Linked DNA regions of Homo sapiens: all the other regions are linked to region 2. Evidence: promoter capture Hi-C in 16 types of primary human blood cells and fetal thymus (Javierre and others, 2016). All regions are on one chromosome and are shown on one strand. The core of a region is centred on a gene start or on the middle of the fragment in contact, and the rest is flanking DNA. Distances in the headings are between cores, read along the strand shown. Region 1 overlaps CD55 (CD55 molecule (Cromer blood group)). Region 2 holds the start of C4BPB (complement component 4 binding protein beta). Region 3 overlaps LINC02942 (long intergenic non-protein coding RNA 2942). Region 4 overlaps LOC107985251 (a long non-coding RNA gene).

Region 1 (2,700 bases), core at 185-2,684, 240 kb before region 2:
TCTCTTTGTATAAACAAAGTACCTATATTAACTTACTGAAAGCAACATGGTATAAAACAGCAAATGTAAGCAAATTTGCCAAAAATATGAGGCCTATTTTATATATACACATCATAATATGTGTGAGTATGTGTGTGTGTGTGTGTATACAAGCCATAGACCCTTCTGAGAAGCTGTAGAAAAATTGTGTCCCACAGAAAAATACAAATATGTATATGTAAACATTTTACATTTTTTTCTTAGGGGGTTCATTGAATGTCTGCAACCCACATATAGACCTGAGGGTAAGAATAAAGCAAAAATATAACTATCCAAAGTGATTACCTCTGCATTCAGGTGGTGGGCCACTCCACTCTCCTTCATCATTATTCACAGTACAATAAATAGAGTGCTCTCCAATCATGGTGAATCCTTTATTACATGCATACGTTACAGACTGTCTATATCCATAATGGTCACGTTCCCCTTGAATTATTCCATTGTCAATTTGTGGTGGTGCTGGACAATAAATTTCTTAAAAAACAATTCCAACATCTTTTAAATAAATAAAACTAGTAAAGTATTTTTACAAATAAGATCAAAACATGTTAAAGATTATATTTTAAAGAAATCAAAATATCATTTTTCTAAATTCAGCATTACCAACAAGAGATGCTTATAAATGCCTATTAAGTAATTGGTAGTATGTGGGAGCTTTGAATGCAAATGGTGTAGAAGACAAATGCTAACCTTGAGACCAATTCATAGAAATAATAAGATTCAGAACATGTATGTAAAAGAAAAATTATAGTAAGATGTGTGCATATCAAAACGGTGCTAGGAAAAGTGAATGCTGCAGGATTTTAGAGATGAAAGCAGTGTAGTCAGAGAAGACTTGGGCAGGGAAATAGAACTTGAGTTTAAACCTAATATGTACCATGCTTTTGAGAGAGAACAGCGGAGAAAGCGTTGCTCTTCACTCTAAGAGGGAAACGCTAGCAAATGCAAGGAGTTGAAAATTCAAGCAGCATGTTTAAGAGTTAAGTATAGATCATTTTGGATACAGCAGAGATCTTAAATGTCAGGATTACATTTTGACTTCTAGAGTAAAAATTTTTAGCACATATGGACTCACAGAGACTTCACTCAAAACAATCTTACTGAGCAGCTGAACTTACAAAATAAATACAAGCAGAAGTTTTTTTAGTTATACTGTAAAAAGGGACCACTCCCTGGCAGTTACCCTGAGAAAAAATTCAATGGTTCCACATAATCTAAAGGCATGATGTTGTTGTCCTTTTTTTTTTTTTTAAGAATGAAGGCAATTTAATATGTGTGTATGCCAAATTATGTTACACCAAACATACTTAAGAACACAGAAAATACTTAGCACATTTATCAATCACTCTTTGGTCTTGGATCAAAACAAGCAGCAACAACAAGCTGTTCTGATTTACACTAACTTAGAGTGTGCAGAGACACACACACCATTGGTTCAGTTCAAACATTTTCTGAGTGCCTAACACACGCCAGGCATTTTTTTATAATTGGAAGCGCAAAGCTGAACAAGATATAGTTCCTATGTCTTAAAAGCTAGTGGGAAAAAAGATTCAGAAATGATTTCAATAAAAAATGCAAGGGTCATCCCGAAGTAGCCAGCCTGGGAATCTTTCTGATGGGCTAGGGAACTAACTCTTAGTAAGGAAAATATAGCTAAGTAAAGAAGGGGCAGCGGGGCATGGTGGTTCACACCTGTAATCCCAGAACTTTGGGAGGCTGAGGCGGGCAGACTGCTTGAGCCCAGGAGTTCGAGACCAGCCTGGACAACATGAGGAAGCCCTGTCTATGCAAAAAATACATAAATTAGCTGGGCATGGTGGTGTGCACCTATAGTCCCAGCTACAAGGGAGGCTGAGGTGGGAGGATCACTTGGGCCAAGGAGGTTGAGGCTGCAGTGAGCTGTGATCGCACCACTGCACTTCAGCCTGGGCAACAGAGTGAGACCCTGTCTCAATTTAAAAAAAAGAAAAAAAAGAGGTACATGGAAACCACAGCAGTTTGCATGTATAAGGCATAAAACATGAAGGCAAGACCTGAGTGTCAAGCAGTAGGTAGACCATGGCTGCCTTGTACACTATACTAAGGAATTTGGGCTTTTTAAGTGATAGGAGATATGAATAAGCTCTAAGGAGGAAATAGATGTCTAAGTCACATCTGTGTTTCAGATCGCTCTGGGTAAAATATGGATGAAACATTAATAGAGTGAAAGAATGGAGGCAGGAGGCCATTGCTATCAGTGTCACTCTTGAACTCAGGCAACTAAGATTGCTGCCTCAAACCCCACATTTTAAAAGGCTGTGCTCTGGCCCTCCTCTGGATGCATTTCTCCCCTGTTGGTGGGATGTTTGTAGGCTGATAGCATATACTCAATGACAGCCTGTCCTACGACTTCTCCTCCATTCCAGAACATGCTCCAGGAACTAGCACCCAGAATTCCCTGTGCCAACACCCCTTCCAGGGCCTGAGAGGGTCCCTCCCACTGGTCCATGTTCTTGAGGGTGGTCTATCCTGCTGATATACTCACCTCTAACCCAACAGACAATGGAGGGTGGATACAAGTTATGGTGGATGTGGTGGACATGTCTTGGGTATGTAGGCTGAGTTGTCCGCTTATGTGCACCAGAGAACCCATACAGTGTGGGAAGAGGAAGGGCTATTTGA
Region 2 (2,700 bases), core at 138-2,637:
AGATTTCCCCATTCTCATGTCTTTTTGCTGGATTATTGATCCTGATTCCTGTGCTCTTCCCAAGTACTCTGTATTCTACTCCCAAGTAGCCGGGACTACAGGCACCCGCCACCACGCCCAGCTAATTTTTTGTATTTTCAGCAGAGACGGGGTTTCACTGTCTTAGCCAGGATGGTCTCGATCTCTTGACCTCGTGATCCGCCCACCTCGGCCTCTCAAAGTGCCGGGATTACAGGCTTGAGCCGCTGCGCCCGGCCGGAATTCCGAAGTTTTATTTTCAAAAGTATAACAGGAATTTTACTCAAATTCAACCACAAGTTGTCCACTTCTAAACAAATAGTCCCCTACACAAATAGCGATCCTGGAGTTTATAACAAGTAAGACCTCCCAGGATTTTGAAATTGGTACTCTTTTTGCTCCCAGAACAGAAAGGGAAAGTAAAAAAACAGTAACCACCCACTTCAGAGATCAGGGTTATCATTAAATGTACACTAAGCTCCTATTGAGTGCAGAGCATTAGGCCAATTTGAGATTTTTCAATAGAAGAATAAAGATATTATAAATGTAAACTTCCTTAAAGCCCTAGACAGAGTTCCTCAAAACACCGCAAAAGGACACCAAATGCCTGTAAGCTGAGTTGAAGGAAAGCATACGTACCATCTGAAGCAGAAACTCGCCACGCAACCATAAGACAGCACGCACACCAAAAAAACATCTGGTGATCAAAGTCCTCTCCCCAGGCTGGAATTCACCCAGCTCAGACACCTGGTTTGAAAAAAAATAGATCTTCTAACACTGCTTAAGACCAACCTAACCACCTCCTCTCTAGAGAAGAGGTTATATTGATTTACCCTCCCTGGAGAAAATGAAAAGAAAAAATCTTACGACAGGAAATCAGAACAGCTGTAAGGAAGCTGGTATAGGGAGGAACTGCAAAAATACAAAGGGATGGTAAAAGAGTTGCCAGGTTTAAAACTCAGTTTCAGAAATTTCCTGGTTTCTGGGAATGCAAATCCAGTTGACCAGTCTTTTTGAAACGCAGGCTTATCCTTCCCCAACAAACATGGGCCAAATGGTCTTGCCATGACCTTGACTTCTGTCAATAGTTGCCAATGTTTACAGTCCAACTTCTGTAACTCTGGCCAGCACTGGGGAAAGAGAACGGGCTGTCAATCCCTGGTTCTTGCCCAGGTAGAACACAATTTTGAATGCTACCTCATCCTCCTTTCCTGAATACCAGATATCCTAAGGCTGTAAGCAGCACTGAAGACGAAAGCTCAAGGAAGTAAACTAACCTTACCTGTCTCTGTCCCTCCAGAGTTAGGGCTTCCCAGCAAGGAACTGGTCTTAACTGACTCCAAAGCTGAGAGCTCCAAAGTCCTGCAGTGACACATTGTTCTCGCTTGCCAGGCCTGTACCCAGGCTTCCTACTTTGTGGCTCTTCCAGGGACAGGATTTGGCCTGAGTCCAGAGTTAACCAAATGAGTAAAGAGAGAGGTGAGGAGAATGCTTTGGTCTCAGGAATTAAGGCATGTAAAATTGTTTTGAGGGATCCCATATCATCTTGCTTGTGACTACTATAACCCTTGGTTGGTTCTCTGTGCTGTAATTATGAAACTGGGGAAAAATTCCTACAAAATTTCAGGTTTTAATAGAATAATAAAGCATTAAGGACACAGTAAGGTTGCAAATGTTCTTCTCTTCTCCATCCATTACTACTGTTTGTGATGATTAATCTATGTCTTTCTCCTGAAAGGAATCAGGATATGCCACCCCCAAATATTTGGCGTTAAGATTCTTTTAAGCTGAAGATATTTGAGATTCAGTGATATGGAAAGGAACAGAGATTTTGGGGGCTTTCCTTATCTGACTAAAGGCAGCAACCTTGGAGATAAGGTTGCCATAAATTCCTTTTCAGGGTAGGTCTATCCTGGAGGGGAGAGCATGAGTAAAACATATTTCAAATTCCTTCTCCAGAGAAATTTCATGGCCTTGAAGGAGACAGAAAGAACACTCGTACTTATATACACAAACATTATCACAAAACTTTCTAATTTCCTACTTTTCCCCTGAAAACCCACTTGCCTTTCCAAAAAATAATCTGTTTTCTTTTTTGTTTGAGATGGTGTCTTGGCATGATCTTGGCTCACTGCAACCTCCACCTGCCAGGTTCAGGCCATTCTTGTGCCTCAGTCTCCCGAGTAGCTGAGATTACAGGCATGCGCTACCACGCCTGGCTAATTTTTGTATTTTTAGTAGAGATGGGGTTTCACCATGTTGGCCAAACTGGTCTTGAACTCCTGACCTCAAATGATCCACCCGCCTTGGCCTCCCAAAGTGCTGGGATTATAGGCATGAGCCACCGCACCCGGCCAATAATCTGTTTTCTTGTAAGTGCCTTTCTTCTCCCCACCTTCACCTATTAAGATGATGTATAAGCCCCAATTCTAACCAACTTTTTGAATTACTTATCACTGAGTTTTCCCACATGTACTCAAGTTACATGTATAAATAGAATTTTCTCTCCTGTTAATCTGTCTTAGTCTAATTTGCAGGTCCCAGCCACTGAATACAATATGGTAGAGGAAAGGTGTTTTTTTCCTCCCCTTTATTCCCACAGGAAACTGCTAACTCCAGGACAGGGTTTGTGTCTGATTTGTATTTGTATTCCCTTCCACGGTGCTTCATATTGCAAAGCAG
Region 3 (2,724 bases), core at 74-2,573, 170 kb before region 2:
GGTTCTTTGAGGTTACAAATTCTTTGCCTAGGCCAATATCCAGGAGACTTTTCCCTAGATTTTCTTTTAGTATTTTTATAGATTTTGGTCTTACATTTAAGTCTTTAATCCATTTTGAGTTGATTCTTTAATATGGTGAGAGATAGGTATTCAGTTTCATTCTTCTGCATGTGGCAATCCAGTTTACCCAGCACCATTTAGTAAAGAGGATGTCTTTTCCCCAGTGTAAATTCTTGTCAGCTTTGTCAAAGATGAGTTAGCTGCAAATATGTGGCTTTATTTCTGGGTTCTCTATTCTCTTCCACAGGTCTATTTTTATACCAACACCATGCTGTTTTTGTTACTATAGCCTTGTATTATATTTTGAAATCAGATAACATGATGCCTCAAGCTTTGTTCTTTTTGCTCAGGATTGCTTTGGCTACTAGGGCTCTTTTTTAGTTCCATGTGAATTTTAGATTGTTGTTGCTATTTCTGTGAAGAATATCACTGATATTTATTGCTCGGGTTTCACTGAATCTTTAGATTACTTTGTGCAGTATGGTGATTTTGACAATATTAATTCTTCCAATTCATGAGCTTGGGATGTTTTTCCAATTCTTTGTGTCATCAATTTCTTCCATCAATGTGTTTTGTAATTTTTCTTATAGATGTCTTTCACCTCCTTAGTTACATTTATTCCTAGGTATTTTATTTTTTTGTTGCAATTGTAAATGGTTTCTTGACTTCCTTTTCAGCTAGTTTGATATTGTTGTATAGAAATGCTACAGGTATTTGTATGTTGACATGTACAATTATTTAATTTTATTAGATGTTTGTTGGCAGAAAAATTATGTTTTTCTTAATGTTCTCTAAATAATGCACTATTGATATTTATATTAACTGTGAAACAATTTTCCTATTATTTAAATATTAAAAAGTTTTTTTGCACATACAATAAATAGCTTTAACAGTCATCATTAATCATAGTAGTGTACATATAGGACATATTTATAGTAATACAAATATCATATATTTATTCATCAACTGACAGAATCTTAATATAAAGCACATAAGGAGACTTCTCACTCTGTGCCACATCTAGAATATATACTTAGATTCTTTGAAAAGGTTCACTAGTAACTCTAAATCTGAAGGGCTTTTTCTTTTTTTTTAGACGGAGTCTCTCTCTTGTCGCTCAGGCTGGAGTGCAGTGACGTGATCTCAGCTCACTGCAACCTCCACCTCTTGGGTTCAAGCAATTCTCCTGCCTCAGCCTCCTGAGTAGCTGGGATTACGGGCACTCGCCACCATGCCCAACTAATTTTTGTACTTTTAGTAGAGACAGGGTTTTGCCATGTTGTCCAGGCTGGTCTTAAACTCCTGATCTCAGGTGATCTGCCCGTCTCGGCCTCCGAAAGTGCTGGGATTACAGGTGTGAGCCACCGTGCCTGGCCTAAATGACATTTTTAATGTCATTGTTATTCTGATTAGAAGTGATTAGATATGACAGTCAGGAATGTCAGAAATTACATTGCAAGGGAAGTAGGGGGAGACTGATGAACAGAAGTTGGTTAAGGGATACAAAAATACGATTGATAGAAGGAGTAATTTCTGGTATTTGATAGTTAGCTATAATTTATTGTATATTTCCAAATAGCTAGAAGAGAACTGTAATGTTTTCAACACAAAGATAAATGTTTAAGGTGATAGATATCCCAATTACAATGATTGAATAATTACACATTATATACATGTGTCAAAATATTACATGCACCCCCAAATGTGTACAACCATAGTATAGCAATAAAAAATTAAAAATTAGATCTGGAAAGAGGGGAGGAGCAAGATAGTTGAATAGACATCTCCACTGATTGTCCCTCCTACAGAAGCACCAAATTTAACACTATCTACACAATAAAAGCATCTTCGTGAGAACCAAAAACTAGGTGAACACTCACAGTACCTGGTTTTAACTTCCTACTGCTGACAGAGGCACCAAAGACAATAGGAAAGACAGTCTTGAATTGCTGACACCACTACCCCATACCCTGGCAGTGGCCACATGAGGCAGAGAGAGAATCTGTGTGCTTGGGAGAGGGAGAATGCAGCAACTGTGAGACTTTGCATTGACCTCAGTGCTCCCCTGTCACAGCGAAAAGCAAAATAAGGCTGAACTCAGCAGATGCCCACCTATAGAGGAAGCAGTTTGAGGAGCCCTCACCAGATGGGAATCACCCATCCCAGTAGTTGGAATTTGAGTTCCAGCAAGCTTTGCCACCACAGGCTAAAGTGCTTTGAGGCCTAAATAAACTTGAAATGTAATCTGGGCCACAAGGACTGCAACTCCAAGGCAAGTCCTAGTTCTGAGCTGGGCTCAGAGCCCGTGGAACTGGGGGGCATGTGACCTACTGGGACATCAGCCAGGGCAGCCAGGGCTTGTGCTACCCCTCCCCAAACCTCAGACAGCACAGCTCGTGGCTCCAAAAGAGACCTCTTGCTTTTGCTTGAGGAGAAGAAGGGCAAGAGTAATAAGGACTTTGTCTTGCATCTTGGATACAAGTTCAGCTACAGTAAGATAGGGTACCAGTCAGAATTGTGAAGCCCCCACTCGAGGCTCTAGCTCCTGGATGACATTTCTAGACATACCCTGGGCCAGAAGGGAAACTGCTGCCTTGAAGAGAAGGACCCAGTTCCAGCAGTACCTCATCACCTGCTGACTAAAGAGGCTTGGGCCCTGAATAA
Region 4 (2,700 bases), core at 178-2,677, 140 kb before region 2:
TCAAGCAAAAAGTGGCCTTCCAGATGACCTCTGAAAGATACATTGATAACAGTAGTGTTCAAGAGTGATAAACTGTGATCATTCATGCTATTAAAATATTGTACCATGTGTATATATTAATTATGCAAATTAAATAAATAAGTAAAGTGTAAATTTCTAAGTGCTGCCTCTGTCTAGGAGGAGACTCTTGTTTGACCTTTCATAGAGGCTCTACCTTCTTAGCAAGGGCCCTCAGTAAGTTTGGAGTTAACCTTTACATTGAGGGGCTGGAGCTGACCAATGTGAATTTCTGCAGGTGACTTCAGCCTCTCCAATTAGAACATATCCATCATCACAGTGACAGTGCACCAGAGTAGTAGAGAATAAAAAATGATCTCACATCTTCATAGGACCCATGGCCAATGGGAGGAACCATTCTGCAAACTTGAATGGTGAGAGAGAAGGTAGAGGAGAATGAGCTAGAGTTTCATTTAATGAACAATTCAGTGAGCGACCCTTCTCGTTATGCAGAACTAGGTCATTAACTTATTGTACTGCTGATGTACATTTCGTCTCCTTGACAAAATCAGTAAACTTTTACACTGTTCATGAACTTCTGGGTACAAAAGCATTAATTTAGCCACAGGGAGTTACTCCAAAACAGAATCATATTCAGTAATCATGAGGTTAAATAAAAAGAAAGGCCACAAATTAATTTTCAAAAAGCAGACAGTGCAATTTAAAAACAGCTGAGAGACTTGAATAGATGTTCCTATAGAGGGGCTATACAGATTGTCAACAGACATATTAATAGGTGCTTAATCACATGGGTCATCAGGAAATACAAATAAAAGCCACAATGAGAAATCACTACACACTCACCAGAATGTCTACAATTGAAAACTATGATAATACCAAAGTTTTCATGAGTAGGACACAATGGAACTCCAATGAACTACCTAAGGAAATATAAATTGGTACAGCCACTTCCAAAAACAGTTTGTGGTTATGTCCTAGAACCTGGCAATTACAATCATGGATATTTTCTTGGCAGAAATACACAAACATGTGCACTAAAAGACAAGCTCAGAAATGTTTTCAGCAACATTATTTGTAATGTGACCAAACATGAAAGAGCCTAAAAATCCATCAACTCTAGAACAGATAAGTAAATTATGGTACATTCAACTGATGGAGTACTAGACAGCAATAAAAATGAATGAGATACTATTTACAAAAAAATGGGTGAATCTCACAAATACATTGAGCAAAAGCAGACAGACCATTAATGTATAATTCTATTCCATTATTAAAGCTTTTAAAAATGCAAAACTAAGCTACAGAACAAGTATAAATAAAATAAAGAAATGATTACTCTGCAAATCAGGATGATGGTTACATTTGAAGAAGGATGAAGTAGTAAATGGGAGGGCCCCCATGGGACTTCTGGGGGCTGGCAATGTCCTACATCTCTACCTGGGTGACATTTTCATTAAGTGTTTGATTTTTGATGAATCATGTTGCTGTACATTTTCACTTTGTATACTTTTCTATATGTGTATTATATTCTAATAAGCTTTTTAAAAAAGAGTTGATTATCTTTGAAAATGGTTAAAGAGTGAATGAATCCGGTTGAGTCCCCCCACCTCTTCCAACTACCACCCCCTCCACAAAGAGAATGTTTTATCATTTTGCAATTTTTGGAGAGAGGTTTGTTGAAACAATGCAAAACAATGGCATATTTGGAAGTAAGAAATATGCAAAGAGCACTTTGGGAAGTTGAGGTGGGCAGATCACTTGAGGTCAGGAGTTCCAGACCAGCATGACCAACATGGCAAAACCCCGTCTCTACTAAAAATACAAAAATTAGTGTGGTGGAGCATGCCCATAATCCTGCTACTCAAGAGACTGAGGCATGAGAATCGCTTGAACCTGGGAGGTGGAGGTTGTAGTGAGCCAAGATCATGCCACTGCACTCCAGCCTGGGCAACAGAGCAAGGCTCCACCTCAAAAAAAAAAAAGAAAGAAAGAGAGAGAGAGAGAGAGAGAAAGAAAGAAAGATGCAATGTTGAGTTGTTGAGTTAGCCTGTCAGTAAAGGAATGATCTATAGTGCCAAAAGTTTTGCAGACAAGATTTAGTGCAATTTAATAAATTTAGAGCTTTGAGTATGTTGATAAAGCACCACACTAAGGGAAGAGTTCCTGTAAGGACTGAATCTAAGTTAAAGCTGTTTCCAACTTATTTGCTAAAAAGCAAATTAAAACTGCTGGCTCCTTTCTCATGGACTCCATCCTCACCAAGAACTACTCCTTCATGTGTGCACTGTTCTCAGGCACTCTCACCGGTTCAGTGTTCTCCTATTAAGCCATGTGCATTCTCACTTCTGTGCCTTTTCTTCTGCCATTTGCCCTACTACAATGCTCTCTACCTTTCTCCACATGCAATCCTGGCACGCGGTGATCATTCCTGCCTGTGGTTGCCTATGGCTCTCAATAGGAATGATATTTTGAGTTCTTAGCCACTTGCATTTTATATATGTTTATCATATATTTATTCTACAGAAAAGGAAACACAACCTTAGAGAGGTCAGTTATTCTGCATAAGATCACAGTTACTAAGTGCCAGTGACATGAATGAAACTTAGGGATTAAACTCAGGCTTCTATCAGTTCAAAACCCACTGCTCCTTCTTAGAATACTACTATTTTCTGCTCTCTATAG

Evidence for each region. The method cuts DNA at HindIII sites, captures the fragments that hold promoters and counts their contacts. A CHiCAGO score of 5 or more calls a contact.
Region 1: a fragment that was not itself captured here is called in contact with the fragment with the promoter of C4BPB in region 2 in 1 of 17 cell types (total B cells); the score reaches 5.4 in total B cells.
Region 3: a fragment that was not itself captured here is called in contact with the fragment with the promoter of C4BPB in region 2 in 2 of 17 cell types (M2 macrophages and monocytes); the score reaches 6.3 in M2 macrophages.
Region 4: a contact is called between a fragment that was not itself captured here and the fragment with the promoter of C4BPB in region 2, in 1 of 17 cell types (monocytes). The highest score is 5.2, in monocytes.

Annotation. Positions count from the first base shown.
Region 1 is chr1:207,328,921-207,331,620 of GRCh38, reverse strand. It overlaps CD55 (CD55 molecule (Cromer blood group)), which reads right to left. Exons shown (of 10, transcript NM_000574.5): 6 at 325-513. Among named protein-coding and RNA genes, the nearest start is that of CD55, 8.6 kb to the right of the region's middle. The HindIII fragment of the contact is 5,587 bases long and covers 1-2,700 here.
Region 2 is chr1:207,087,547-207,090,246 of GRCh38, reverse strand. C4BPB (complement component 4 binding protein beta) reads right to left here and starts at 1,387. Exons shown (of 7, transcript NM_001017365.3): 1 at 1,301-1,387; 2 at 658-765. The coding sequence starts at 715. The HindIII fragment of the contact is 12,500 bases long and covers 1-2,700 here.
Region 3 is chr1:207,259,674-207,262,397 of GRCh38, reverse strand. All of the region lies in intron 2 of LINC02942 (long intergenic non-protein coding RNA 2942), which reads right to left. The region is part of intron 1 of LOC107985251 (a long non-coding RNA gene); the gene reads left to right. Among named protein-coding and RNA genes, the nearest start is that of LINC02942, 21 kb to the right of the region's middle. The HindIII fragment of the contact is 1,860 bases long and covers 394-2,253 here.
Region 4 is chr1:207,223,509-207,226,208 of GRCh38, reverse strand. The region is part of intron 1 of LOC107985251 (a long non-coding RNA gene); the gene reads left to right. It also overlaps the pseudogene C4BPAP2. Among named protein-coding and RNA genes, the nearest start is that of LINC02942, 15 kb to the left of the region's middle. The HindIII fragment of the contact is 261 bases long and covers 1,297-1,557 here.